2 separate regions of the Homo sapiens genome follow, and region 2 is linked to region 1. Evidence: promoter capture Hi-C in 16 types of primary human blood cells and fetal thymus (Javierre and others, 2016). All regions are on one chromosome and are shown on one strand. The core of a region is centred on a gene start or on the middle of the fragment in contact, and the rest is flanking DNA. Distances in the headings are between cores, read along the strand shown.

Region 1 (5,621 bases), core at 1,457-3,956:
GGCTGAGGCAGGAGAATGGCGTGAACCCGGGAGGCGGAGCTTGCAGTGAGCTGAGATTGTGCCACTGCACTCCAGCCTGGGCGACAGAGCGAGACTCCGTCTCAAAAATGAAAGAAAGAAAGATTCAGCTTAGAGGAGAGCAGGCCGAGGGATTGCTAAAGCATCCCAACGCGCTGAAGAGACAGCCTGCCAAGAATGTTTCCAGAGAGAATGAGCATTGGCTACAGCAAGAGAGACTGAGGTGTGAAGACAAGAAGGACTTCCCGACAGGGTTGAGGTGGCTGCCTGTAAGAGAGTGGAGACCTCTTTCTCCAGGAGCAACAGCCTGCCAGCTGGAATGATGGAGATGGGCAGGTTCTAGGTGCCTGAGAGGAGGGGGGAGACTTTACCAGGGAGCTTGGCAAGAGGGCCTCTAGCCTGAGTTTGATGAGTAAGAAGCAAACCCTCCTTTCTGGAAAACACAAGAGCCCTCGGCAGATGCAGTTATTAGTGGTCATGGTTCATCTGTGGTCATAGAAATGGAGTTTCTACTCAGCTGGGGAGAGGTTCTAGGCAGAGTCACTGGGCAAGGTGAGAATTCCTGGTTCTAAATAAACCTGATACATTTCAACTGGACAGACTTGTGATAGTGGGCCCTGTTTTGGTGGAGACTGGACGGGGAGGGAAAGTCCCAGGTTTGGCCTCAGCATGTGTGACTTTGAAGCTTCATCCTGGGCAAGCCACATGGCATCTCTGAGCCTCAGCTTCCTCATGTGTAAAAGGGGGACCCATTGTGTTTGTAAGGGCCAAAGGCCAGTGCTAGATGTGAAAAGTGTGCAGAACTCTACCAATACAAGGCATATCCCCAGGCTGCCGGGCAGCAACACCTCCAGCCCACAGAGGATGTAATTGTGGTGTGGCTTCTTGGGCAAGGTAGTAATAAATCATGATAATAACAAAAGCAAACACCTCCAAAGGCTGGCTGTGTCCCAGGAGCTGTCCTAAGTGTCTACGCGTATTAACTCATTTCATCTTCGCAACCTTATGAGGTAGTCTTTGCTATCATCCCATTTTCTAGATGAGAAACTGAGGTTCAGAGAGGTGAAGAACCTTATCTGAGATCACCCAGGGACTAGGTGGTGGAATTGGGATTCGAACCCAGCTGTTGGATTTGGAGACTGGATTCTTGAAGGGAAAGGAGGGAGCCTGCACTCTGGGCAGTGATGTGGAGTCAGAGATTTCCAAGTTCATGGTGCAAGTCTGTGGGAGAGCAGAACTCACTTTACAAAATTGTTGACAGCCGGTGTTGTTAGAGACGGAAAGGGACAACCCCGGCTCCTCTCCAGGCGTGGAGTCTGTGGGGATGTGCTTCCAGAAAATGCAGGGTTAAGCAGGAGCTGCAGAGTAGAATCAAATGACAATGACTCACTGCTGTCACTAACAGGCTCTTTGTGGGGGCTGTAGGTGGGAGGCGATATGGCCGGCACCTTCGCACAAACCTCCCTTGCCCGTCAGCAAGGTGTGTGGACCCCATACAGGGGGTGTGGCTTGGGTGCCCAGGACCTGCTAAAGCCACACGAGCTCTCCAAACCCGTCAGCCGCTCCTTGCATGACCGAGCAGGACCGACCACTTACTGCGCATGTACTCGAGGCATCATCTTTTCTGTACACCCAGGCCCATGAGGTGCTTACTCCCATGAACCCCATTTTGCAAATGGGGACCCGAGGGACTCGGTGGCCTCTTTAGGGCACAATCAGCAGCGGAACCCAAACCTGCCTGGCTCAGAGGCTCCGGAGGCGGGACACCGCCACCTCTCCCCCAAGTGCAGCGAGCACCCTCCTCCCCAGCCTTTGCCTTGTTTACACCCTGCTCCCCAGCAGCTGTGGATACGAGTGCACAGGGCACACCCTCGCACACACCCACAGGCATGCACATGCCACATGCACACAATTACACACACTCCCCCGCTGGCTCAGCACCCCCTCTGCTCCCACACAGGGCTGCAGGGCCCTCCTCCCACTCACTCACCCTCTCCTCCCGCCCCCACCGCCCATTATCAGCCCCACACTCTCAGCAAGCCTCCTGGCTTCTGCCTGCATCCACCCCTCCTCCTTCTCATTCCTGGGGCTCTGGACTGGCTCTGGAGCCCTGGAAAGCAGGGTTTGGGTGGATCTCCACATTACCTTGGGCTGGGCTTGGGAGCTCCGGATCTCACCAAGGGACTCCTGGGGGCCTTGATTACTGCAGAGGTCAGCAGGCCCAGAGACCCCAGCCTCCCTGCAGGTCCTGGGGAGGGGTGGGGGCAATGCCTCTCCCGCCTGTTGGTGCCTGTCTGTCACTGCACCACTGCTTCAGGCCTCCCTTATATAAGCCCAGTTCTCTCTCTGGCCTGCAAGGGGTGGGCAGCCCAGAGGCCAGCGCCACTCGTCCCCAATCTCCCTTCTTAGGATCAAGAACCGGCCCAAGGTTGACATTTGGTGCACCAGGCCCCTGAGGGGCTTCAGGGCAAGGCCAGGGACCTCGGGGAAAATCCTCATCCTCTCCCCTCCATTCCAAGAGTAGCCTGGGCCCCTTGCCCTGGAGGAGCCCTGGCCCTGTGAGGGAGGCTGGCAGGCGCTGCCCGCTGTCACTCCATGCCGGTGCCCTTTGCTCCACTTCAGTGGCCACGTGACCAGGCCCCATTCCTGCCCTCTAGGGTTGTTGAGCAGCCACAAAAGGGGTGGTGCCAGCAGCTGGGGCACTCTCCCTAAGTGAGACTGGGACTTTGACCATGCCCACCCCCACCCACTGCCCAGCACAGTCAGGAAGTGGCTTAGCCTCCCAGCTCCCACCCGCTTCATCCCCACCTGCCTCCTGGGAAGGGGCCTCAGGCCCCACTCTGCAGTGGGTCTCCTCCCCCTCCTCTCCCCACCTGCCCCTAGCACTGCCTGTGTGCGGGCCCTCTCTCCCCTAAGAATCATATGAGCATGAAGGTCTATTTTGGGTGCGTTTAGGGAGCAAGGGATTCGGAGCCACATAGGCCTGGATGAGAGAATCTCAGCTCTGTGTGTTAACTTCCTCATCTGTAAAATGGGTCCAGCAGTAGCGCCCACCTCTGGGGTTCTTGTGGAGGTGAAAGTGGGGCAGGAGGGAAGCACAGGGTGGACCTGGCTATTGGTACCCAGTAAATGCCACCATCACCATCAGCAGCGGCATCACCGTCAGGGCCCGTGTTGGCCGTTGGCCACGTGGTGTAGACTTGGAGTCTGCAAGAGCTAGGTTTGAATCCCAACCTGCTGCTTACTATGTGGCCTGGGGCATATCACTAACCTCTCAGTGCTGGTCTCGTTGTCTGCAAAAACAGGGAAATACCTTGTGCTCATCAAGGCTGTTGGCAGATGAGAGACCCTGTGTGGGACTCGGCACAAGTGGGTGTTAGTGGTCGCTATGTTCTTCTCCAGGGAGACAGGTGAGGTCTTAGGAGTGCCAGCCTGATTGTCTGCTGGGGTGGCAGGGATGGTGATGGGGGCTGAGAGAAAGGCTGATCTTTTCTGCTGTTGGGGCCCCCAGCCCCATCAGCAGCCACAGCTCCTCCTATCGGGCTCTGTGCAGAGCTCTGGGTAGGGAGGGGTGGGCGGTGAGCTCTGGGCCTGAGACAGCCCCCTTCGTGTGGCAGTGGGGCAGGTCTCCAGGGCACAGGGGCTCCAACATGCTGTGATTCAGAGCCTACAAGCAGTGGGAGAGTATCAGATGCTGCCTGGGGGCTCAGAGGATGCATGCAGCTGTTGACAGTGTTTGAGCCACCAGCCATAATAAGAGCAAGCATTAGAGAGTGCTCACTATGTGCTAGGCACTGTGCTAATCATCACATGGAATTCTCACCACAAAGCAGTCATAAATAGATATAACAATCCCCATTTTCCTAATGAGCAAACTCAGGCCCAGAGAGGTTCCATGACTTACCCAGAGCCACACAGCTCCAAGTGCTTAAAGAGCCAGGTCTGGGTCCAGAGCTGGTTCTTTCACTCTCTTCTCTGTCAGGCAAGAGCGAGAAGAGCAGCAATACTAGGTTTAAGGGGAAGGGCATTCCTAGCAGAGGGCACTGTGTGAACAGAAGCGTGGAGGTGAGAGTCGAGCAGAATCAGCACTCTGGAGTGGCAAGAGCGCTGGAGACTCGGGGGCTTCATCATCCCACTTACTAGCTATGGGGCTGCTTACGCCTCCCTGGGGGAGGCTGTGCGTGGGGCTGATTCCTGCCTGTCTGCCTGTTACAGGTTACAGTGAAGGCCAGAGCACTGTGGACATGGGAATGAGTCCTCGTGTGGAGGGGCCTTTTCTAGAAATACTGTTGGGCCCCTGGGGCCCTTGGCACTGCAGGGCTCTAGGTAGCGCCCCCCCTTCCTCCTGGTTATAAGTGTTTCTGCCAGAGAGAGGCTCTTCCTGCCTTCCCCAAAGGAACAAGCCACAGACTGGACATGTTAGCAGGGAAACAGGTCATGGCTCCCCAGGGCACGGGGCACAGTGGCTCCAGCTTGGTACCATCTGCCACCACAGGTGGACCTGACTCCCTTGCAGAAGGAGGCCTGCTGCTGTCCCTGAGTTCAGGGCTTATTTTTTGGGGGGACAGAGTCTTGCTCTGTCACCCAGGCTGGAGTGCAATAGAGCGATCTCGGCTCACTGCAACCATTGCCTCCCAGGTTCAAGCGATTCTCCTACCTCAGCCTCCCGAGTAGCTGGGATTACAGGCGTGCACCACCATGCCCAGCTAATTTTTGCATGTTTAGTAGAGACAGGTTTTTGCCATGTTGGCCAGGCTGGTCTTGAACTCCTGACCTCAGGTGATTCGCCCACCTCAGCCTCCCAGAGTGCTGGGATTACAGGTGTGAGCCACCACACCTGGCTAAGTTCAGGGATTCTTGATGCTCCTTTTAGAGCATCAAGCTCTTCTCTTAGCCCAGGGAAAACTGGCCTCCCCATCAGGCCTGTAGATGGGAGGAGGTGGCAGGGCATCACCCACTGCTACCTGGCCTTTTGCAGTAGAGTGAGCTTCTCTGGACTCTCCATGGGCCCCAGCCCCACCTGGGGACAGAGCCAGGCACGCCCACCCCACCTTTGGGTCCTTCCCACCTGCCATTTTAGAATCCACTTGCCGAGGCAGGTGCCTGGCCCAGATCACCCCAGCTCAGGGGTCACTCTGGGAGGCCCCGTGCTGTCTCCTCTGCCGGGGGTCACTCCAGGAGGCCCTGTGCTGGCCCTTCTGCCATTGTGCCCACTGGATGCAACAACACCCCGGCGGGGAGAAACATTAGGAGCTGTTTCCACACTGGGGCTCAGAGAAGTTGATGCACCTCCCTGCCTTCCCCCACTGCAGGCGCTAGGTCCAGTCTCCCTGCCCCATCTCAGCCTCAGTCTCCTGATCTGTGAGTCCTCTTAGATGGGATCATCTCCAAGCCCCTTCTGAGAGGACTATTCTAGGATTCCAAAGCAAAGGTGCTAAACGGGGGACCAGCAAATTTGAAGTTTTCTTGCATAACTGACTGGGTTGTCAGGGAGACTCACATACAAATGAAATGGATGGAGAAAAATAGTGAGGCGGCTTGTCGGCAGCTCTGTGTGGGGCCCGCGTAGGAGCAGGACAAGAGCAAGGCCCAGTTGAATGAAG
Region 2 (5,621 bases), core at 1,211-3,710, 77 kb after region 1:
CAGAGGACACAGCACAGCCTGGGACCCTTGTTGGACTGAGTGGTGCTAGCACAGCTTGACCCCACACGAGCTCAGAAGAGCTCAGCTGGCCATGAGAAGGCCTGAGCTTGTTTTTCCCAGGTGGACACAACCAAATGGGGCCGATTCTGCCCCGATCACTGCCATCTGGCCATGTCCAGGCTCATATACTCCCACTCCCACGTGAGGACAGGCCAGGGACTCAGCCCGAGAGGGGCCCGGCTAAAAGAGGGATAGCTGGCAAGGCCCTCCCCTAGTGGCAACTCCGAGAGAACACAGACAAGGGCTGGCATCACCACTCCAGCCTCCTTCTCCTTTTCCTCTGCTGGGAGGCCCTGGCTCCCACATCCACACAACTAGCCCCTCACTGCAGGTTCTGTCTTTGCCCAAAGGGCACCTCCTCAGAGAGGCCTTCCCTGTCCCCGCTGTGGTCCCACTGCGGTCCCACTGCCTGCCCTGCGAGGCCTTCCTGCTCTCTGAGAGGATTCGCGCTGTCTCGGCTCACATATTCCGAGTCCTCTTCCGCACTAGAACATACGATTCTTTCAGCCTGCAGCAGGTGCAGTGCCTGCACACAGTGAGTGCTCAGGAAGGATGTTCTGAAGGAAGGCATGAAGGGATACCATGTGTCTGGGTTTGCTCAGCGTTCTTTCTTTTAGAGCCAGGGTCTCACTACATTGCCCACGCTGGTCCCGAACTCCTGGCCTCAAGTGGTCCTCTTGCCTCAGCCTCCTGAGTAGCTGGGATGACCGCTGTGAGCTACCGTTCCTGTGCTCAGTGTTCTTAAGGAGGTTGCTCCCCTTCTCAGGGCACAGGGGTTGAGCAAGGCCATGGCTAAAGCTTCTTCCATTATCTCCTGAGCCTCCCTGTACCCATTAGTTAGTCAATCAACTCATCAAACACTGGTTTCGTGAGCATCTGCTGAGGCAGGCTGAGGTGTAGTGTACGTGCTTAATAATTGCCTGTTGAATGACTAGCTCTTTAGGTGCCCACGCCATAACCAAACGGGTTCTTTGACTAGCGGGTGCCTCTGGCTTCTCCTTGGCTATTTCTTTCTTTCTCCTGAAGGAAACCAGGAGTTGCGCAGACCGGAGGCTCCAGCAGCCAGCCTGCTGCCTGGGGTGGCTCCTTGATCCCTGCTCCCTTGAGGAGGAGGCTGCCCACCCCTCATCTCTGGGCTCGCCCCCTGCAGCCAGGCAGCTCTTGGGCCTCCTGTGCTCTTCCTGTGCTGGCCAGGGCTGGGAGAGTGCAAGGCCAGCTCCTCACTTCCCGGCTTTGCCTTGGGGTCTTGGCAGCGCCTTTCTCTCTGCTCAGCTCCAAAGAGCACACGGGAGCCTGGCTGCCGGCCTGAGAGGAAGCGGCCCAGACAAGTAGCTGGGAGGATGGCGTGCCTGCAGAAGACGCTGAGCCCTGCCTGGGCACACACGTCCAGAGGCCCCCGGCAGCATGCCGGGAGGGCACAGACATACTTAGCGCCTCCCCACTGGGCAACAGCCCCTCCCTGGCGTGCAAGATTCCAGCCAGCAGTCAAGCTCCACCCCCCACAGCCCAGGACAAAGAAGGGCAGCCGCCCCCACCGCCACCTCCACCGGGAGACTTGGCCCAGCTGCACACTCTGCTCCACCCCTGTCTCCTCCAGTCCCATGATGGCATTGCCCCTGTTACCCAGTGGGTGGCCTCCACCTTCCTTCTAAACACAGCACCCACACGTGGCCTGACGCTCAGACATTCCCTCACCACCTCTCTATCAGCCAGACCTGGTGACTCAAGTCGCCACCTAGGGCCGGCCTCAGCCCCCTGCTGCACGCTGCCCCGGAGCAGGACTGGAATCATGATCCTGCCACACAACAGCTGGCTCAGCCAGCTGAGGGTTAGTTTACTCATAAGATGATCATCATAACCGCCTTGGGGCTGTTGTGAGAATTTGTGGGAACTGGACACTCTGGCAGCTCCCAAGGATGGACACATTATTGCATGCAAGCACACACAATCCCACAAGGCCAGAGGTCCCTGGGGTCTCCCTGGCCCCTAAGATTCAGGCTAAATGAACTCCATTTCCACCTGCACCTTGTAAAAAGTTCAATCTCTCCCTGTGAATTGGGAGTGGAAGCCTAAATTTGTATGATCTTTGGTACGGAACTGCTGCCTAGAGCTGCACCATCCAGTACAGCAGCCTCAGGCCATGTGGCTACTGAGCACTTAAGATGTGGCTAGTCCAAACTGAGATGTACCTCAGTGTAATGGTGAAACGATCGGATTTGGGGATACATTAGGTTAAATAAAAGACATTGCTAAAATTAGTTTTACCTGTAGATACTTATTTATTCTTTTGAGATGAGGTCTCATTATGTTGCCCAGGCTGGAGTGCAGTGGCATGACCATAGCTTACTGTTACCTCAAACTCAAGTGATCTTCCTGCCTCAGCCACCAAGTAGCTAGGATTACAGGCACTCACCACCACATCTGGCTAATTTTTGCAATTTTTTTTGTAGAGATAGGGTCTCACTGTGTTGCCCAGGCTGGTCTCAAACTCCTGGCCTCAAGGGATCCTCCTGCATCAGCCTCCCGAGTAGCTAGGACATGCACTACAGCACCAGCCTTTTTATCTTTTTTTTTTTTTTTTTTCAGATGGAGTCTTGCTCCATTGCCCAGGCTGGAGTGCAGTGGCGCTATCCTGGCTCACTGCAACCTCCACCTCCCTGGTTCAAGCAATTTCCCTGCCTCAGCCTCCCGAGTAGCTGGGACTACAGGCGCACACCACCAGGCCCAGCTAATTTTTTTTTTGTATTTTTAGTAGAGACAGGATTTCACCATGTTGGCCAGACTGGTCACAAACTCCTGACCTCAGGCAATACGCCCGCCTCGGCCTCCCAAAGTGCTGGGATTAGAGGCGTGAGCCACCGCCCCCAGCCCTTTTTATCTTTTTTTAAATGGCTGCTAGATCATAAAAAATTACATCCGCACCTTGGGTTGTATCTTTATTGGGCTGTGCTGGTTTCATGGCTCTTCCTGTATCTCCATCCCAGATTAACTCACACCCAGAACTCAGCCCCTTTCCCTGCTTTCTACAGAACACCTGCTCTCCTAGGCCTCCGTGAACTCAGCAGCGAAGCCCTGGCCTGCGGGCAGAGTTTGCCCCACAGCAGTGAATTCATCCAGAACTTGCACGTGTATGTGGCCTCCCTCTCTAAAATGTTTTAGTCCCCATCATGGTTCTCTGTCCCTTCTCATTCAGTACCCCCTTCCCAGTTCCTCCCACTGTCTTTTGCAGAGAAAATCCCACTTTCTCCAGCATTAGCATGTGCCAAACTCACCTCCCTCCTGGCCTTGCCTTGCACATCCTCTGCAAAGGGTTGAAATCTCTGCATGGGGAGGGCCTGCCACCCTCCTGGACAAGACCCCTCCTGCTTCCAGGATCTTGCCTCCCTGACTGTGGACATGCCCTCGGCCTGACTTGATACCCTCTGGAGCGCACACAGGGGAAGGGGACAGGGAGACTCAGCCTTCCCAGCACCAGGGCTCCCACTGGCTGGGGGACTTCAGGAGAGTGGTCTCCTCCCACACCGAGCCCCCACTAATTTTTCCCACACTCCTCTCTGCTCCCCCGCCCCATTCATCCATATCACACAGACAGACCCTCCTATGCCCTCTGTCATGCCCATGTACACATATGTCCCAAATGCCACAGTCCATGTGTTCTCACAGTTCACACAGGGTTGCTTTCACTGCCATACGTGTGGGGAAGCTGCCCTCATCATGCACAGATGCCCGCCCACCCCAACCCACACACATACATGTGTATAGGCCCCTGTGAACACAGATACATTTATTTGTGCACAGGTAGGTGGGCACAGACAGTGAGACACATTCTCATCACCAGGCACCCCCAGGAGACAGAGACCCCTTGGTGGCACTCACCTTGCTCCCTCAGACGCCATCGCAGGCCTCCTCGTGTGGACGCTGGGCTTGACGGCAGCCTCGCATTCTTTCCCACGCGGCCCACGCTCACGCCTGCTCCACACACAGTCTCCTCACCCCAGCCGGCAAGCTTTCTTGCAACCCCTCTCCTCCTCCACCCACCCAGCTCTGTCATTGGAGAAAGTCTGGGAAGCTGAGAGTTAAGGTGCTGGGGAAAAAAAAAAAAAAGGAGGGAAAATCTACTGTATTCCGGTGATAGAAAATCCTGCCAGGAGATGGGGCTTAGGTCCCAAAAGGGACCCAGGATTCTGAGATTGCAGCAGAAATTAAAAATCCAAATGAAGCCTCCTCCCTTTCTAGAATTTTCCATCTGGGCTTGACTGAAAAATCAGCCAAAAATCAGGAGCCTGGTCCTTCTCACAGAGAAGACAAAGGTGAGTCTGACAGAGCGGCAGGCTCTGTGACACCCTGCAGGAGATAGTGAGGGTCTCGGGGAGCGGGTCTGGGTGGCTGTATTTAGGGCGGCTGTGATGTCAGCGGAAAGGAGGGTTTGAGTTGGGAATGTGGCACAATGGCCCCTTTGTCCCCCTCCCCTCCTGTCCTGTACACACTGAAACCACACACCGGCCCCACACCACGTGATGCAGGCTCAGAGCTGCCCATGGGGCACTGCCACACAAGGCTGCCCCCGCTGCAGCCCTGACCCACAGTGCGTGTGTCCACATACATGCCCACGCGTGTGCACACACACCCACGTACCCACATGTAGATTTGTACAGAGGTGACAAGAGGCATATTCACTCCTTTGCCTACAGCTCTGCTGCCCCGTATGGTAACCCTTATCCCACATATAGTTAGTAAAACTAATTGCAATTCAGTAAAAGTGGAAACTGCATTCCTCAGTCACACTAACTGCATCTCACATGCTCAACAGCTGCATGTGGTTAGCGGCTACCGCACTGGGCGGTGCAGCTCTAGGACATGTCTGTTGCTGCAGAAAGCCCTGCCCTGCGCCCTCCGTTGCTGTCTGCTCCCCCATGGGCCTTCCACTTGCTCTTCCTCTCACACTCGCTCACTCCTGTGCACCAAGCACACACAGCGCCATGCTCTCACCTAATGGGTGGCCTCTCTAGCTCAGTCTCTCTCTCTTTAGTCTCCCCAGTACCTAAGCACAGACTCTGCCTAGCCCTGCATTGCAACACCTGGCCTCTAGTCTGGAGAGAATAACAGGATGGAAACATGACCACATCCACAATCCTAGGATGAAGGACCGAGGGGAGCTATGTGGATCTGGAGAGCTTTGGAAACTCAGAGGGGCTGAGCTCAGGCTGGGTTGGGCAAGGGAATGGGAAGAGAATGAGACATTTGAGCATGGCCCGGACAGTAGGGTGTTGAGCATGCAGAGAGAAAGGACATCTAGAAGGCCTGGAAGTGGGGAAATGCAGTGCATTTGTGAGAACTGTTGGCCACCCTTTTTGGTTGGTGTGACAGATGTGGGCAGGGGAGGGGACAGTGAGCCTGGGCAGGTGGGTAGTGGCCAGGTAGAGCCTTGGATGCCAGGCTCAGGATGTCCCTGGGTCCCCCACGAGGGCAGATGGGGATGTGGCCTGGACAGCCAGGGTCCTAAAGTCCCAGAGGTCCAAGTGGACAGGGTTTCCTGGGCAGCATGGCAGGCATCACCAAGC

What was found. Contacts are between HindIII fragments. The CHiCAGO score rates a contact against its expected background, and 5 or more counts as called.
Region 2: a fragment that was not itself captured here is called in contact with the fragment with the promoter of PDK2-AS1 in region 1 in 1 of 17 cell types (endothelial precursors); the score reaches 5.7 in endothelial precursors.

The regions. Positions count from the first base shown.
Region 1 is chr17:50,099,690-50,105,310 of GRCh38, forward strand. PDK2-AS1 (PDK2 antisense RNA 1) reads right to left here and starts at 2,707. Exons shown (of 2, transcript XR_007065842.1): 1 at 2,164-2,707; 2 at 1-1,376. All of the region lies in intron 2 of PDK2 (pyruvate dehydrogenase kinase 2), which reads left to right. RefSeq lists an enhancer at 1,315-1,924. The HindIII fragment of the contact is 6,546 bases long and covers 702-5,621 here.
Region 2 is chr17:50,176,774-50,182,394 of GRCh38, forward strand. No RefSeq gene overlaps it. Among named protein-coding and RNA genes, the nearest start is that of SGCA, 14 kb to the left of the region's middle. RefSeq lists enhancers at 4,395-4,689, 5,149-5,621. The HindIII fragment of the contact is 3,208 bases long and covers 857-4,064 here.